Linked DNA regions of Homo sapiens: region 1 is linked to region 2. The links are contacts of gene promoters, found by promoter capture Hi-C in human tissues and cell types (Jung and others, 2019). All regions are on one chromosome and are shown on one strand. Each heading gives the region's core, a stretch centred on a gene start or on the middle of the fragment in contact. The rest is flanking DNA. Distances are from core to core; before and after follow the strand shown.

Region 1 (2,700 bases), core at 111-2,610, 440 kb before region 2:
AAGGTTTTTAGACCTGTTCTGCCCACTACACTGTAGTAGTACTGTACTACAGTAGCCAGTAGCCACATGTGACTATCCAGCATCTGAAATGTGGCTGATCCAAATTGGGATGTATTCTAAGTGTAACACACACCAGATTTCTTAAACTTCGCATTAAAAACAGAACAGAACATAAGTATTTTTTAAAATATTGAGACTCGGCAGCCAGGTGCGGTGGCTCACGCCTGTAATCCAGCACTTTGGGAGGCCGAGGCGGGCAGATCACGAGGTCAGGAGATCGAGACCATCCTGGCTAACATGGTGAAACCCCGTATCTACTAAAAATACAAAAATTAGCCTGACGTGGTGGCAGGCACCTGTAGTCCCAGCTACTCGCGAGGCTGAGGCAGGAGAATGGCGTGAACCTGGGAGGCGGAGCTTGCAGTGAGCAGAGATTGCGCCACTGCACTCCAGCCTGGGTGACAGAGCGAGACTCCGTCTCAAAAAAAAAAAAAAAAAAAAAAAAAATATATATATATATATATATGAGACAGACAGACCGACCCCGGGCATCGTGACTCACGCCTGTAATCCCAGCACTCTGGGAGGTTGAGGCGGGCGGATCACTTGAGGTCAGGAGTTCGAGACCAGCCTGGTAACATGGCGAAACCCCGTCTCTACTAAAAATAACAAAAATGAGCCGGGTGTGATGGCGGGCGCCTGTAATCCCAGCTACTTGGGAGGCTGAGGCAGGAGAATCGCTTGAAGCCAGGAGACGGAGGTTGCAGTGCGCCGAAATTGCGCCGCTTCCAGCCTGGGCGACAAAGCGAGACTCCATCTCAAAAAATTTTTTGATTATATGTTGAAATAATACTATTTGGGATGTATGGGTTAAATAAAATATATATGATTGTTTCTATTTTGACTTTTAATGAGGCTACTGGAAATTTTTAAATTACGTATATGGTTCGAATTATATATCTATTGGACAGTGATGTTACAGATAGAAATACAGCATAGTCAGGAGAATCGCTTGAACCGGGAGGCGAAGGTTGCAGTGAGCCGAGATCGCGCCTCTACACTCCAGCCTGAGCAACAGAGCAAGACTCCGTCTCAAAAAAAAAAAAGAAAAAGAAAAAAATTCAGCCGAGTGCTGCAAGATACGTCATTCTAGTTGAAGGAATATCTAAGCCAACAAGCGGCTCCCATCATCCGGTTTCACGCCTCTCTAAGACGCAGCCAGGGCTGCGGGACTTGAAGCGCGGGAATCTCGGCCCTGGCACCGACTCCCCGGAAAAACTACAGGGCCCGGCATGCACTGCGCGCCTCTGGGAGCGGGAGCCGAAAGGAACCGGCGCTTTGTGACGTCACGTCCGCCTTACCGGCGGATTAAGCTCGCTTTCTTCTAGGCGCGTTTCCTGAAGGTGGGAGGGGAGCGTCCGCGAGGCGCTGGGGCGACGGGGCAGGTTTATCCGGGCTAACTTTGCCGAGTCTGTTTTTGAGGGAAGAGGTTGTGAGGATCGTATCTTCCGGGACGCGTTTCACGTGGGAAGGCGCTCCACGCCTGGAACTGTCAGCAGCCGGCGCCTGAAGAGCTCCTGGCGCGGGGCCTCTGGCCTGGCAGCCGCAGGACCCAATGGATCAGGCGCTCACGCTGTTCTCACTGCATGGCTTCAGTGCCTTGCCTGGCACCTCCTATCCTGTAACTGGCCGACTCGGGGTCCCACCCAGGCTTCTCCAGCGGCCGGGAAGGGGCTCTGCTTCCGGAAGTGTTTAGGAAGGGAGCCAGCGTAAACCAGAGTCCCTTCCTCCAAGCATCGCTGAAGCCTTTTCTCCCCTGGCAGCCGACTTCCTTTTCTTTGGAAAGGACGTCAGTTTTTTTAGCTTGTTGAAACTGTTCAGAGATGCGGTCTTGTGGGCAAATAAATGCCTGTTTAGCTGAGCTGTTATTTTCAGCTAAGAAGTTCTTCAAGTTTTCAAGATCTAGGAGGGGGTGTAGGCTCGAATTATAATGGACCCAGTGTAGCAAAACATTTATTCATTTAAACAATTGTGCATGCTCATTCAGACGCACTACCTGAGTGAGATGATGCCGTTCTGGGCTGCTTCATCTTAAAGAGAGTCACTGTTTCTTCTGGCAACTTCTACCTGCCTTGCCTATCGAGGTTTGTGAATTGCACCTCTGGTTTAATTTCAGGTCGATGGCCAGGTGGTCTTCATAAACTATACTGCCTTGTGATGCCTCCCTAGAAATGAGAGGTGAGTCCCTTCCAAACGAGGATTCTAGGATCTCATGCTTTCTTTTCTTGACAAGGCTTGCCCTGGCCCTCTGACTTTCAAGTCACAGGGTCTCACTTCCTGCAGATTTTTGTTTTAAATCACTGTGGTCTGATTTACCAGTAGCATTCACTACAGTAGCGAGCCTGCACGTTGCGCTGCAGGGGATTCATAACAATACCATCTTTCAAAAGCTGCATGCACTGGAGCTCAGGAAAGCCTTTTTTGTTTTTTTGAGAGGGAGTCTCGCTCTGTCACCCAGCCTGGAGTGCAGTGGCACAATCTCGGCTCATTGCGACCTCCGCCTCCCGGGTTCAAGCGATTCTCCTGCCTCAGCCTCCCGAGTAGCTGGGACTACAGGCACGCGCCATCACGCCCGGCTAATTTTTTTGTATTTTCAGTAGAGACAGGGTTTCACCACGTTGGCCAGGCTGGCCTCGAACT
Region 2 (2,700 bases), core at 173-2,672:
CCTCTTCTTTATTTATTTTTTGAGATGGAGTTTCACTTTTATTGCCCGGGCTGGAGTTTCACTCTTATTGCCCAGGCTGGAGTTCAGTGGCATGATCCTGGCTCACTGTTCCCTCCACCTCCTGGGTTCAGGCGATTCTCGTGCCTCAGCCTCCTGAGTAGCTGGGATTAAGGTGCAAGCCACCACACCCGGGTAATTTTTGTGTTTTTGTAGAGATAGGGTTTTACCATGTTGACCAGGCTGGTGTCAAACTCCTGACCTCAGGTGATCCACCCGCCTTGGCCTCCCAAAGTGCTGGGATTACAGGCGTGAGCCACCGCCCCCGGCTGACCCCTTATTTCATCTCTAGACCCAACCAATCAGCACACCCCACTCCCTGACCCCCTACCCACCAAATTATCCTTAAAAAACCCGAGTCTCCGAATTTTCAGGGAGACTGATTTGAGTAATAAAACTCCGGTCTTGGTCAGCCAGTTCTGCATGAATTAAACTCTTTCTCTATTACAATTGCCCTGTCTTGATAAATTGGCTCTATCTGGGCAGTGGGCAAGGAGAACATGTCAGGCAGTTATACTTCCTGGTTTTTGTCTAAGTTTATAACATACTTCCATATGTATATACATATTCTATAAAAAATGCTATACATAATATCTTGTAACATTCTTTCATTCAAAATTAGAAAATTAGAATTTTGTATAGAACAGACTGTATAATGAACACCCATACACTCTTCATCTAGATTAGCCAATTGTATGTTGTCACATCTTCCTTCCTCCATCTCATTTCTCCCCCTCCGTGTGTATGTGTATTTATGTGTATGTGTCCCTTGATAATCCATGAGGAACTGGTTCCAGGACCTCCTGCAGATACCAAAATCCAAAAGCTAAAGTCCCTGATATAAAATGGTATAGTATTTGTGATCTATGCACACCCTCTAGTATACCTTAAATCATCCCTACTGCTTACAATACCTAATACAATTTAAATGCTCTATAGTCATTATATTTAGGGAATAATGACAAAAGGTCTATGTGTGTTCAATACACATGCAACCATCCATTTTTTTCTTTGTTCCCTGAATATTCAACCCAAGGTTGGCTGAATCCTCAGATGCAGAATCCATGGATACAGAAAGCCAACTGTCTGTGTGTGTATACATACATTTTTGGCAACTTGCTTTTAAAACTCTATCAAACATTTTTCCAGGTCAACACAATTAGTCTGACTACTTTCACTCTTAGGAGCTCTATGGTATCTACCGTATGTAAGGAACCATATGGTATTCAAATATTCCTCATATGACCTCGTGGCAAGGATCAAGAAGGAGCCTCAAGTGCTCCAAGTCAGACCCACCTCCCCAGGCTTCCTCATTTCTATTAGCAGGAGTGAAGAAGGGCCCAGAACTCTGGGTGCTCTTGGCAAGATGCCTACCCTTTCCTCCTCCCAAGACTCCAGCTTCTCCACCATTTTCTGAGACTATCAGGTCTGATCTCATTAAAGCTTTTGTCCTTATTGGCTCAGTTATAAGAGGCTCAGGATTCCTGGGTCACCCCCTGCCTGATCCCACTCTAAACTTCCTCCACTTACATCCCTTTCTGAGTCCATCTCTTGCTTCTCCCCAACTTCTAGAGATCTTCCTCTGTGCCCTCTGGAACTCACCACAGAGGTTAGGGCAGAATTCCCTATGTCTTTTTTTCTTTGAGATGGAGTCTTGGGCTGGGCGTGGTGGCTCATGCCTGTAATCCCAGCACTTTGAGAGGCTGAGGCGGGTGGATCACGAGGTCAGGAGTTCAAGAACAGACTGAACAACATGGTGAAACCCCGTCTCTACTAAAAATACAAAAATTAGCCGGACGTGGTGGTGCATGCCTGTAGTTCCAGCTACTTGGGAGGCTGAGGCAGAAGAATCGCTTGAACCCGGGAGGCGGAGGTTGCAATGAGCCGAAATTGTACCACTGCACTCCAGCCTAGGGGACAGAGCAAGACTCTGTCTAAAAAAAAAAAAAAAAAAAAAAAAGAGAGAGAGAGATGGAGTCTTGCTCTGTCCCCTAGGCTGGAGTGCGGTGGTGCAATCTCGGCTCATTGCAGCCTCCGCCTCCCAGGTTCTAGTGATTCTCCTGCCTCAGCCTCCCCAGTAGCTGAGGCTATAAGCATGCACCACCACTCCTGACTAATTTTTGTATTTTTTTTTAGTAGAGACAGAGTTTCACTGTGTTGGCCAGGCTGGTATCGAACTCCTGACCTCAACTGATGGACCAGCCTCGGCCTTCCAAAGTGTTAGGATTATAGGCGTGAGCCACCGTGCCCGGCCAGAATTTCCTATGTATTAATGAACATTCCCTATACTTTTCTACTTCACCCTTTAACACTGGTCCTGGGGGTGGGAAGATGTCCTTCTCGCTGCTTCCAGACCATTCTCCTTTCATCTTCTCTGACACCCCATGGCATGGATGCTCAGGCCATCAGACCGTACCACGTGATACTTAAAGCAGTCATCTTCTGATCCCTGGATCTCTTAAATTTTAGTTCCCACTCTAACACTACCATCTGAATTGATAATTTTAATGCTTATGTAGATTTAATACTTGGCTTTTCAGTTTCTTCATCTCCACTTTTCCAATGAGCCTGTACTCCTCCCTCCTTCAGCCAGTTATTCTCGGACACATTAATCTTGCTACTAGTAATAGCAACCTGTTTGTA

The links. The method cuts DNA at HindIII sites, captures the fragments that hold promoters and counts their contacts. A contact is called where the count stands out against the background at its distance.
Region 1: the fragment with the promoter of ADAT1 here is called in contact with a fragment that was not itself captured in region 2 in 1 of the 25 tissues and cell types used here (hippocampus).

What each region holds. Positions count from the first base shown.
Region 1 is chr16:75,621,941-75,624,640 of GRCh38, reverse strand. ADAT1 (adenosine deaminase tRNA specific 1) reads left to right here and starts at 1,360. Exons shown (of 10, transcript NM_001324445.2): 1 at 1,360-2,238. RefSeq lists enhancers at 1,047-1,566, 1,446-1,685, 1,567-2,086, 2,087-2,606, 2,607-2,700. The HindIII fragment of the contact is 9,595 bases long and covers 1-2,700 here.
Region 2 is chr16:75,184,926-75,187,625 of GRCh38, reverse strand. No RefSeq gene overlaps it. Among named protein-coding and RNA genes, the nearest start is that of CTRB2, 21 kb to the left of the region's middle. The HindIII fragment of the contact is 9,756 bases long and covers 1-2,700 here.